Regions from separate parts of the Homo sapiens genome. Here region 1 is linked to region 2. Evidence: promoter capture Hi-C in 16 types of primary human blood cells and fetal thymus (Javierre and others, 2016). All regions are on one chromosome and are shown on one strand. The core of a region is centred on a gene start or on the middle of the fragment in contact, and the rest is flanking DNA. Distances in the headings are between cores, read along the strand shown.

The links. The method cuts DNA at HindIII sites, captures the fragments that hold promoters and counts their contacts. A CHiCAGO score of 5 or more calls a contact.
Region 1: a fragment that was not itself captured here is called in contact with the fragment with the promoter of LY86 in region 2 in 1 of 17 cell types (naive CD8 T cells); the score reaches 6.7 in naive CD8 T cells.

What each region holds. Positions count from the first base shown.
Region 1 is chr6:7,242,782-7,248,586 of GRCh38, reverse strand. RREB1 (ras responsive element binding protein 1) reads right to left here. Exons shown (of 13, transcript NM_001003699.4): 12 at 1,366-2,163; 13 at 1-76. Among named protein-coding and RNA genes, the nearest start is that of SSR1, 68 kb to the left of the region's middle. The HindIII fragment of the contact is 213 bases long and covers 2,543-2,755 here.
Region 2 is chr6:6,584,521-6,591,108 of GRCh38, reverse strand. It overlaps LY86 (lymphocyte antigen 86), which reads right to left and starts at 2,389. Exons shown (of 5, transcript NM_004271.4): 1 at 2,239-2,389. The coding sequence starts at 2,374. The region is part of intron 1 of LY86-AS1 (LY86 antisense RNA 1); the gene reads left to right. RefSeq lists enhancers at 3,863-3,992, 4,003-4,092, 5,917-6,026. The HindIII fragment of the contact is 13,475 bases long and covers 1-3,917 here.

The sequences.
Region 1 (5,805 bases), core at 1,400-3,899, 660 kb before region 2:
ATCCGCTGGTGGCGAACCAGGCTGTGCTTCAAGGTGAAGGTTCGCTCGCAGGTCTGACATTTGTATGGCCTTTCCCCTGGAACAATGGAAGAAAGAATTTCCATTAACCAAAAGGCACCAGTACCCACTGCACCCTGCTCTGCACAGGAAGAATGAGGCTCCCAGGCTATGTGCGGGGGGCCAGGACTCCGTCCTACTCAGCCAGAGGCCTCTTCCTTGAACCAGCAAACTGAGGACGGACAAGCTCTGTTTGCTGGTTCAAGCTGTCAGTCTGAGACCTTTCCTCTCCTTCCTCTCTCAGCCCAGGCACTCTACATACTGATCCAGAAAACCCAGGTCCCAGAAGCAGAAGCCTCAGGAGATGTGCAGACTGGCCTCGACCAGAGACTGGGAAGGAATCTAGAGGGGGACAGGAGTGGACCCTCTCAGGGATCTGTATGGACAGCAGCACCTAGGTCGGGGGCACCAGTTACCCTCTGCATTGCGATGTGGTGCAGCGGGGGCTTTCCTGATGGCTCACACGCCAGGCCCAGGGCAGGGCCCACCACGCTTGTTGGGAGCCCAAGAATATCCCTCTTCTGAGAGCCAAGGACCCTGGCCCTTCACACGGGCAAGCGCAGGGCAGAGCCGACTGCGCTGGGTCGGGGCACATGTGTTCACTGCGGGCTGCAGCTGTGACAGGGAGGGAAGCTGCGGCTGAGAGGAGGGACAGGTTATTTTGGAAAGAAGAAGGATATATCTCTGGACTCCATGAGCATATTCAGGTCTTTGTGTCAAAGTAAGCGCCCCTGCTCTGGGGTCTGCAGCCTCCACCCTGCAGGTGGTGGGTGAACTCTAGAACGGTGTGAAGGGCAGTGGCTAAGGGTCCTGTCCCAGTCATCTCAGCCGAACTGCACGGCTAAGAAAGGAAAAGGCCCTCCTGACCCTAATGGATCACCCAGGGTGCCTGCCCCACAGCGGCCTGGGGCAGTGCCTGTCGTCCAGGCCACAGGACTAGACAGGACTAAGTGGCCCAAATGCCCAGCACAAGCACCCTCTCCTAGATACCTCTATGAAACAGGGCAGCTGTTACCCCCACTCTACAGATGGGGAGGCGGAGGCAGCAGAGCTAAAGGCGGATCACAGCGTTCTCAAAAACACAACGGCCAAGGACCCTCTCCTGCCTGGCTGCAGGAGGCCTGCACCGTCTTCAAGGGCTGAGAGTACAACTCCTTAAAACTCCTAGTTCACGGGCTTAAAGGGCACACCGGCAACGTAAGCAAACGTTCTCTCGGTGGCCTCCAGCGCCGCTTCAGGGGAGCTCCTAGGAGAGGTGCCCGGCTCGCCTCCTCTTGTTGGGCCGGGGACCTGGCCTGCCCTGGTTACCTGTGTGGGAGCGCATGTGCCGGGTCAGGTCCTGCAGCGACCAGAACCGCTTGTTGCACACGCTGCAGACCTTCTTCCTCTTGTCTGCCTTGCTGGCCACGCTTTTGGGGGAGTCTGTCTTTGGTTTCTTGTCATCGTCGCTCTTCTCTGAGGACCTTTTCTCGGCCGCGCTCTCCCCGTCGGAGGGGCCCTCCGTCTCCTCCGCGAGCTTTTCCGCCGGGGCCTCCCCGGCACCCGGGGCCGACTCCACCACCTCTGCCGGGGTCTCGGGGGGCTTCTCCTCCTGTTCAGGGGCGGGCTGGGGCCCCTCCTCTGCAGTGCTGGCGCCATCTCCCTTCTCGTCCTTGGGCTCCTGGCGGCCGTGCGCCTTCCGGTGGCGGCTCAGGGTGCCCAGGAACTTGAAGCTCTTCCCACAGGTGTCGCAGGCGAGCTTCTGCTCCTGCGAGGCCGCGCCCCCGGCGCCTGCCTCGCCGTCGCCCTCCGCCAGCTTGAAGTCCATGAGCTTGGTGGCGAAGTCCAGGTCCAGGCTCTGGTTGCTCGACGCGTCCTCTTCCGCGCCGTCGGCGTCCCCAGTGCTCTCCTCAGTGCCATGCTCCTCCTCCGGCTCATGGCTCTCCCCACGCCCGTGCTCTTCCCGGTGCACCGGCGAGGCCGTTTCCGCCGTGGCCTGCTCCACAGGCGCATCCCCTGCGACCTGGCGGAGCTCAGTGGCGCCCTCCGACGGCTGCTCTCTGTCCCGTGAGGTGAGGTCTAGCACTTCGCCCGCGGCGGCTGCAGTCTCCGCATCCGACTGACTGTCTGTGGGGCAAGCACAGCGGGGAGGGCTCAGAGGGGCACCACCAGGTACGCCCATGCCAGGGATGTCGCCGGGAATGGGCTAGACCCACGCCAGCAGCCTGAACCCCAAACCAGTGAGGACTTCTTTCGGCCCAAATCCTCACCACCTGTTACATCCCCCAGGAGGACCAAGATGACCCTGGGGACGTGAAGAAAGGCAAAAGCAGCCTCCACATCACCTCAGGTGTGTTCCCAGGGCTGGCTGTGCCCCTGAACCCCTGGCTTCCACTGCCCCCGCCCCCAGGAAGGTGTGAGTGACTCAGGCAGGGCAGACAGGGGCTGCGAGATAGGAGAGGGGTGCATTCCAGAGACTCGCAGCGCTAGGGAAGTTGAGGAAGCTTGAGTTATAAGTTATTTTTCCAGTGCAAAGAGATCATACAAACATGCAACATACACAGGACCACCCCTACCCCTAATCCTCCAAAGCATGGTCTTGATGAGTTTCACAGGAAACGACCCCAAGCCTGCGTTGTGTGTGTATGGTATGCACACTCTTGCCTGACGCTCATCTCCAGGTGGAGGCTGCAGAGACCCAAGGGGGCGCAGGCAAGCTTGTAGGCTTCCTAGCTGTCAGCCTCCCAGGGGTGGTGGAATCTTTCAAAGGAAGGGCACCCTTGATGCCAGGCTTGGCAACAGCACACAGTGAGGGGAGCGGACTGTGAAGGGCTGTGGGTGCCTGTGAAGACAAGGGGTTCTGGGTTCCAGGCATCTCACCTACCCTGACTTCCTGCCTCTTGATTTGTTCCTATCTGTCCATTCCACCCAGTAAAACTGTATGTGGAAAGCCTATCAGTTTTCAACAGTCCTTTTAAGGGATGGCACGGCTGCAATATTCACATCAAACAGTGTCAAAAGGCCTTCTCTTTACTAAGGTTGAAAGAAGACTTAATAACTTCTTAAAATTATGCATTACGACAGTACATTGGAAGCTGGTGGGACCTATTATTTAGCTGCAGATCCTATGTCTGATTTAGTTTTTATTATTTTTTCAAGACGGAGTTTCGCCTTGTCGCCCAGGCTGGAGTGCAATGGTGTGATCTCCACTCACTGCAACCTCCACCTCCCGGGTTCAAGCAATTCTCCTGCCTCAGCCTCCCAAGAGCTGGGATTACAGGCGCCCACCACCACGCCCAGCTGATTTTTGTATTTTTAGTAGAGATGGGGTTTCATCATGTTCGCCAGGCTGGTCTCGAACTCCTGACCTCAGGCGATCTACCCACCTCAGCCTCCCAAAGTGCTGGGATTACAGGCGTGAGCCACCGTGCCCGGCCACTGTCTGATTTATTACTGCAGGGATTCAAGTTCCTCTGATAATTGGGTGGATGAAAGTCATTGTTTTATGGCACAAGTACGAGATGCCCCTCCCTCAATAGGCCAGATGTGATTGCAGTCCTTGAGCCAGCAGATTCACGCACCTAACCTGGATTCTCACTTGACGTGATCAGGTGTAACTACAATGTCAACCTGCATCCATCACACCTCCTCAATGTCACATGCTTGATGATTTGCCATCAAGGCGGTCAGGAGGGCTGGGGTAAGGAGCTGGTTCTGCCCCGTCCTGAGGTCTGAGGAGACAGTACCTACTGTTCACACCTGCTTGGGGCTTTAGGCTTTACCCACAGCCATCTGCATAACGCGGCTACTTACATCATTTCATTTCATTAGTTTTACACTGACTGCACTTTTTGGCAGCCACTGTTTGGGTATCTCAAGAGGTTTCAGAAAGAAATATTATGGTGTGAATATAACATTTTAAAGAAGAAATGATTTTGCAAAATTATCCAAAAGCTTAAAGAATATGAGTCCTGGGATATGCACACCAATGTCTGGGCCACATTCCAAGGAAAAACTAGATGTTCGTTTTTCTTGAATCATTTCAACAGAGAGCATCTATAGAATGGATATTGGTATAAACTCTACAATAAAAATACAGAACGCTCAATTTGTTTGCTGGCTTTGTGGGTAATTTCCCTCCCTAGAGTCAGGGTCTCCCTATGTTGCCCAGGCTGGTCTCGAACTCCTGGGCTCAAGGGGTCCTCCTGCCTTGGCCTCCCAAAGTGCTGAGGTTATAGGCATAAGCAACTGTGGCTGGCCTTTGTAAGTAATTTTTTTTTTTTTTTTTGAGATGGAGTCTTGCTCTGTCACCCGGGCTGGAGTGCAGTGGTGCAGTCTCAGCTCACCGTAACCTCTGCCTCCTGGGTTCAGGCGATTCTCCTGTCTCAGCCTCCCAAGTAGCTGGGATTACAGGTGTGAGCCACCATGCCCAGCTAATTTTTGTATTTTTAGTGGAGACAGGGTTTCACCATGTTGGCCAGGCTGGTCTCAGAACTCCTGACCTCAGGTGATCCACCTTCCTCGGCCTCTAAAAGGGCTAGGATTACAGGCATGCGCCACCACGCCCGACTGGTAATTTTTAAAAGAAGGTTTAATCTCTGGTTACTTCCCCTTTGTCCCCAGTATATCCTAGACTACACTTCTATTTTTTTTTTTTCAGCAAAGAACATGCATTATTTTAACTGCACAGAACATATTTAACATGATAGAGCTTTAAAGAAAGTAAAATAAATTTTGAAACAAAACCCAAAGAAATATAAGATCAAATTGTTCCTGCTCTCGGGCCCTTCCTTTGCGCGGATAATGGAGAGAGATCACCCGGAGTACAATGAAAGGCCAACTCCCTCTTTGGACACAGGGGGCTTGGTTGTATTCTACCAAACTCCCACTAGGGGGAGTGTTTTAGCAGTGTAGGCTGTGCCCTTCACATTCTAAACAACTGATTTTCATTAGTGATTCTCATGAACAAAAAACTTCACCTCTTCACCTATCATGAATACTCAACTTATAAGGCCAGGTGCTGTATAAATCCCCGCCCTCAACACCCAGACTCCCAAATGCAGGTAGCTGAGCTGATGACTTTTTATAAGCAATGCTACCTTAAAAATATGCAGTTCTTCCCTCTCCCCATCAGTCCCTCGGTTTGTGTTGTTCAACAACTAAGAAAACTGTTAGAGGAAGCAGAAGGAATCCTGGTAGATAATAAACCCGCAGCTCCTCCTACAGGACTGTGGAGACAGCCCTAGTCAGCTCAACAATTAAAGATCTATTGCTTCCTAAAAATTAAATGAGCCTCAACCACTGTGACAGACTACCAACCTAAGTAATTATCTGACCTGGCAGGGGTGCCTTTGCAGGGGAAGCTGCTGTGTCTGCACTCCACCCAAAGCATCTGAGGATGGAGAGGGTTTCCTGAGGTGTAGTCCATGCTGACATGTGGGACTTCTGGGCTGGTAAAGGCGGCCACCATTAAGGGAGAGCTTAAACACTTTCATGTTTATACGAATTAAAAACAGCCCTATGTAGGTGCCTACAAACACAAAGACGGGGCATCATCGGAGGAAGGACCAAGGGCATATCCCTCAAGGGCAGAGGGGGCCAGGCTGCCTCTCTGTCCAGGACAGTGAATGAAGAATTTCAGTTGAAATTTGAATATTCAAAATGGACCTTTAAGGGAGAACTGCCCCCACTGTGGCATTTTTAGCATTCTTTTGGGGGACTTTATGAGACTGAAAAATGTCAGACCTACATTATAAAACATGTGTAGGA
Region 2 (6,588 bases), core at 1,140-3,639:
AATTGGAAAAACCAACCCTGACCAGTCCATTTATCTCACATCTTGCTTCTCATCCTGCACTGAAAATGAATGGGATACTAGTGGTCCTGACGCCATGGGAAAACCTAGAGTGACAAGATCAGCACTTCCAGCATCCAGTCGTTCATTCTCTTTTACTTATTTTTAATTTTTGTGTGTGTGTGCACTTCAATGTCCCTTATTTTTAAAAGTGAGGTCAAATTGAACAAATGGCCCTGGTGACTAGAGTGACCATCTGGACCTCTCTGGGCAGCTCTTTGGGTGGCAGTTGTAGGATCAGGTACTTGCTCAAGCACTGCATCCTCATCACTCCCCAGCTTAGAGTGAGGCCAATTCAGATGCTTAATCAACTTCTCTTTTCCATCTCCTGTAGTTCAAACGGCATTTTGCCCCCATCTCCCTCCAAAGTGGCAGATATCACAATGCCATGCGTTTGCACAAGCCAGTCCCTCTAACAGCAGATGTGATCCTGAGGCTGGGCTCCTGAGTTGCTCCCCACTTGGGAGCCCTGTATGGGATGAATTGCATCCCCTCAAATTTATGTATTGAAGTCCCAACCCCCAGTACAGTACAGCCCCCTTATCCAAGATTTCACTTTCCAAGGTTTCGGTTACTCTCAGCCAACTGCAGTCCAAAAATATTAAATAGAAAATTCCAGAAATAATTCATTAGTTTGACATTGAGCATCCTCCTGAGTAGCATGATGAAATCTCGTGCTGCCCAGCCCACCAGGAACACGAATTGTCTAGAATATCCATGTTGTCTCTACTACCGGCCTGTCCGTCACTTAGTAGCTGTCTCATTTATTGGGTCCAAAAACCATAGTATATGTAGGGTTCAAAACGATCTATGATTTCAGGCATCCACTGGGAGTCTTGGAACGTATTCCTAGCAGACTGGGGGGGGACTACGGTATCTTAGAATGTGACTGTATGTGGAGATAGGGTCTTTTTTTTTTTTTTTTTTTTTTTTAAGACAGAGTTTCGCTCCTCTTGCCCAGGCTGGAGTACAATGGCACGATCTTGGCTCACTGCAACCTCCACCTCCTGGGTTCAAGCAATTCTGCCTCAGCCTCCCAAGTAGCTGGGATTACAGGCGCGTGCCACCATGCCCAGCTAATTTTATATTTTTAGTAGAAACAGGGTTTTTCCATGTTGGTCAGGCTGGTCTTGAATGCTTGACCTCAAGTGGTTCACCCTCCTCAGCCTCCCAAAGTGCTGGGATTACAGGTGTGAGCCATCATGCCCTGCTGGAGATAGGGTCTTTAAAGAGCTGATTAAGCTAAAGTGAGGCCATGGAGGTGGGCCCTAATCTGATATGATTGTGTACTTATAAGAAGAGGAGATGAGGACACAGATGTACACAGAGGGAAGAGCACATGAGGAGACAGGGAGAAGATGCCACCTAGAAGCAAAGAAGAGAGGTCTCAGGAGAAACCAGCCCAGCTTCCAGAGCTGTGAGGAAATAAATCTGTTATTTAAGTCCCCAGCCTGTGGTGGTTTGTTATGGCAGCCCTAGCTGACTAAGACACAGCCCGATTGGTTGGTTCTGACACTTCTTACCACAGTTCACTGCATTCTCTTCACTGAATTGCAATTATCTGTTGGCGTATTGGGTTGGCCCGCTGGGGTGACAGGCCTGGCATATGCACTTTTATTATCTCTAGCACTGAGAAACCCTGGCATTGATAGCTGCATGCGAAGTGCTTGCTGAATTCATGAGAGCTACTGCTGCAGTGAAAGCTCTGAAAGTGTCCAGAGAGGGACAGGAATCTTCTCTTTGGGCAGAAGTGATCTTTTCACTTCACTTGCAAAGTACATCAGATGGAAAGGTAGCCCAGGTGTACGGTGTTGAGGAAGGGCCTACTGGAAGCTGCTTTTCCTAATTTTCAGCTGGTGAGGTTTGATGATTTGGTAGACTCACTGATCATTTTGTTCTTTTTTGGGTTCTGTGGTGTTAGTAAATGGCTATATTTAGATTCAATTTCTCTTTCTTGTACTCTTTGTTGTTCTGCCATTCTCTTCCGCTCCCAGTCCTGGCCCCACCGCTCCTTCTTCCAAAAGCTCCCAGTGGCCCTCCCAGACCTGCTGCAGGTGGAGAAAGTGTTCAGCTGCTGGTCCCCTCTCCCCTCCCACCCCAACTCCAACTGAGCACTAGCGGCTCACATCTGTGGGCCTTGCTTTCCCCATAAACACACATGGGTGTACTGCAAGGGCTTACCGCAACTCTGGTAGAGCACTTCCAAGCCGCTGTCGCTACAGACCACGTGTGTGGGCCAGGCTTTCCCACCGCCGCCTCCACTGCAGCTGGGAAAAATCAGAGTCCAGAGGAAGAGAGTGGCTGTGAAACCCTTCATGGTGGGGGCCTGTATGGGACACACAGAAAAATAACCGGCCAATAAAAAGCCTGTAAAATTTCTTCCTCTCCCCTCACCAAGGCAGTTGGATGTTCAGTTTCACTTCTCAAATTTTAGACTCGCTGGGAACCACAGTCAGAAGTAAAAGGCTGAGAGCAGAGGCATTTGAATACTGTTCCCCCAGGACCTTGAATCTACAGGTGTGGCTGGTCTGGTCTGGGGTAGGATGCGTGCTGACTTTCTGCTTTCACAGGGAGAGGGTCAGTAGTGATGCGTGAACTTACCTCTTGGGGGCCCCTCAGAACAGCCTCCACCCCCAGGTGAGGCTGTAAACTTGGGAAAGACAAAGCGCAGGCCACCATCTGTTTCCCATCTCCAGCCCCCGAGTCTCTGCAGGCTCTTGATGCAGGCTGTGTATGGACCCAGGGACCTGGCTGCAGCCAGCAGGCAGCAGTTGATAGCACGAGGGCTACAGAATGACATTTGGAATCTGGAATGAGGCTTTGGCCCTATTGTCACTTTCCTCTCCTCTGGCTTTGGCTCTGCTCTTAGGTTTGGGATTTTAGCAGTGAATTGTCCAGCTGCAGAACAGACCTTGTTTTGGGAGCTGCAGATGTGGTCTCTGGAGATGAGGCAGAGGCAATAGCCCTGAGAAGTGAGCCGTGTTCTATTTCTGGGTTTGGCTTGGTAGAAAAAGTAGGAAGGGTGGGGAGGTGGGGCCACCCTTAAGGAGGCTGGTTTGCTGGTTTTGGTGTTAGTGGGATCATTGACATCACATCTCACTTTCTCTTCAAAGCCAAGATTCTGTCTTCCTTCTTCCATGTATCTCTATTCTGCTGCAGGACAGCAAGGTTTCTCAGTCTTGATTCCTCAACCCCGCCCCAGCTTCACCTTAATGTAAGAGGACCAGAGTCAGTGCCAAGGTCAGCAGATTTCAGGAGCAATAGAAAACACTATTTTCCCTGGGAGGAACAGCATTTTTCTGAATGCACTAGGTAAATTTACTATTTCTGCTGATGGCTAAGCAAAAATTAGAGTTAGCTCAAAACTTTTTTTGAAATAGGTGGAACATAATTACCAATAAATTAATTGGTAAATAATTTGGATTTCTTGATAGACATCAGAGAGTGGTCATTTGGAGAAGGAACAGTTGTGGATTGATTATTTTTAGGTACCTCTGCAAATAAGTTCAGTGATGATGGCTTTCAACAGCAGTTCTCAAAGTGCGGCCTGGGAAGATGACAGCCTCAGCTTCCACTGGGGGCTTGTTAGAGATGCAAATTCTGGGCTACTCAAGACCTATTAAATCAGAAACTCTGGGGGGCGGGACTCACCATTCTGGATTTTCACAAGCCCTCCAGGTGTGCCTGATGCAGTCTCAAGTTTGAGAACTGCTGGCTTTTACAGAACATAAAGCGAAGGTTGAGCCCCAAGGGAGTGGTGGGAAGTTGCTCTAAGAAGAGACAAGGTGGCCCCTCTGGCCTGTGTGAGCGGAAGGCAGCTGCGCTGTGAGCAAGATCTCGGGAGATGAGAGTCTGAAGCTTATGGTGAGAGCAGCGGCCCTGGTGGAAGCGTGGTAGCCCCTAGAAGGTCCAGGATGGAACACAGAAGCTTTCCCTTGGGATATGTGAGTGCTCCAGCAGTTGTAAAGAGAGCTCTGAACATATGTGAGTGAGGAGAGCAATTGAGGGTGAGAACTTCCTTCCCTGCAAAGTGCGTCATGATTGACACTGGAGGAGGAGTCCAGGAGTGCAGGGCAGGGAGCAGAAAACCTAGCAGAGAGCTGTGGGCAGCTGTGGCAGGGAAATGGTCTTAGTATGTTCTGGCTGCCATAACAAATACCTTAGACTGGGTGGCTTAAATGACAAGCATTTATTTCTCACCATTTTGGAGGGTGGAGGTCCAAAGTTGGAGATTAAGGTGCTAGAAGATTCAGTGTCTGGTGAGGGGCCTCTGGTTCACAAATGGTGCCTTCTGGCTGTGCCCTCACATGGTGGAAGGGGCGAAGGGTTTCTCTTAGGCCTCTTTTATAAAGGCACTAATCCCATGTATGAGAGCTCCATTCTTATGACCTAATCACCTCCCAAAGGCCTTTCCTCCTAATACCATCACCTTGAGGCTTAGGATTTCAACATATGAGTTTGGGCAGGGCCACAAACATTGGCTTTATTGCAGAAACAGTGTCATCTGAAGACAGGGGTACAGATTCTTGAGAATCAAAAGACCTGGAAATGAAAGGAATCATAATTCAGGGATCGCACTAGCATTTAGAAATATTCCAAATGGACCAATCAGGAACCTTGTGATCATGGTGACCCTAGGACATTGGTCTTCAGGCTAGAGTGGTCTTCAGGGCATCAGCGTCAGCTGGGGGGCTTGTTAACATGCAGATTGCTGGACCCCACCCCAGAGTTTCTGCTCCTGTGTGTCTGGTGAGGCCTGAGAACCTGTGTTTCTAACATGTTCCCAGGTGATGCCAGTGTTGTTGATCTGGGGCCACATTCTGAGGACCTCTGGTTTAGCTTACAGAATTTGATCATTTGCAGAATGTACAATTAAAAAAAATCTTCTTAATAAAATGTTTTGTTTTATGACAGATGGCATTTTATATAACACATATATAACATACCCATATAGGATTAAGAGTAAGCCACATTCTCTAAGGAATTCTACTTACTAGTTCTGCCTACTGAAAATGGGATTTGATTGAAATCATTAGTTATGGCCGTCTAGTTCAGAAATCAACCCATAATGATGTCTGGAGTTCTTTAACTAGAACCTTTATAAAGACAGCCAGAGTGTTCTTTGAGAATGTCCTATTCCCTAATTATAGAATAAAATTAGAATCGGTTTATGGTAGTTATTTAAAATATGGTTATGTCTACGTAATGGTAACCAAACACACACATACTGTCAGGCTTTGATGCTGACTTCTAATCTCTTAGCAGGCTGTAGCTGAAGAAGCTGTGCTCTGGTCTCATTCAGATTTCTTTTCTACTTTTTGGACAATCCTCCTCTTCTTCCATGTCTCACACTGCTCTCCTTCATATATATATATATATAATTTTATTTTATTTTTTTGAGACGAAGTCTCACTCTGTCACCCAGGCTGGAGTGCAGTGGCATGATTTCAGCTCACTGCAACCTCTGCCTCCCGGGTTCAAGTGATTCTCCTGCCTCAGCCTCCCAAGCAGCTGGGATTATAGACGTGTACCACCATGTCCAGCTAATTTTTGTATTTTTAGTAGAGACAGGGTTTTGCCGTGTTGGCCAGGCTAGTCTTGAACTCCTGACCTCAGGTGATTCACCCACCTCAGCCTCCCAAAGTGCTGGGATTACAGACGTGAGCCACTGCACCCACCCTTGCTTTCCTTTCATAGAGGTCTTCTTGAGGACGGTGCCTTTCTTTTCTTGCAGAGTAAAAATATTCTTATCAAGATGACCATCCCTAAAGCCGTTCTTAAGGAGAAAATGTTTGTTTGAGGAGAGACTTAAAGAATCAAATGTGAGACTCTGGGGGCAGGAGTCCAGCTATGTATGTAAGCAAGTAAGGGTGAAGCTGTGCCACAAGAGAAAATACAATACTCCAGGGAGTGAGGGGAGAAAAAAGAAAGGCCTGGAGGGGAGAGAGGAGAGGAGAGGAGGAGAGAAGGGGAGAGGAGAGATAAGCAGGTGATTGGCTGCTGTGGAGTGGAGGGAAGCAGCCTGCCAGCAGGTGGGACAAGCAAAGGTCCCTTAGGAACAGATTCTGCATTGCTTCCTGTGCAGTGTGCAATGTGACAGCCCTCTCCACTCTGTGACCCACAAAAGGTCAGGGAAAGGGGGTTTGGGCCAATGTAACCTACATTACATGTGCCAGTAGATGGCAGACAGTCCTAACTAGTCTTGACGCTACACAGTGATGATGTAGCACTCTGTCTCCAGTGGCAAATGTACCTTCCTCATCATTTGTATCCGACTGTGGGTGCTCTCCTCTCATTTCCCTCAGATCTTTATTATATTAGGCAAAAATTTCCCTTTGCATAGCGCTGCTACTTTGGTTTTTTCTCTGTGGCCTGTCTGAGTTTCTGCCACACTGCAGTGGGAAGAGACAGGTTTGATCACATCCTGCCTTTGTCTTCTAGATCAGGGGGTCCCTAACCCCTGGGCCACAGACCAGTACTGGTCCATGACCTCTTACAAACTGGGCAGCACAGCAGGAGGTGAGCGAGGCT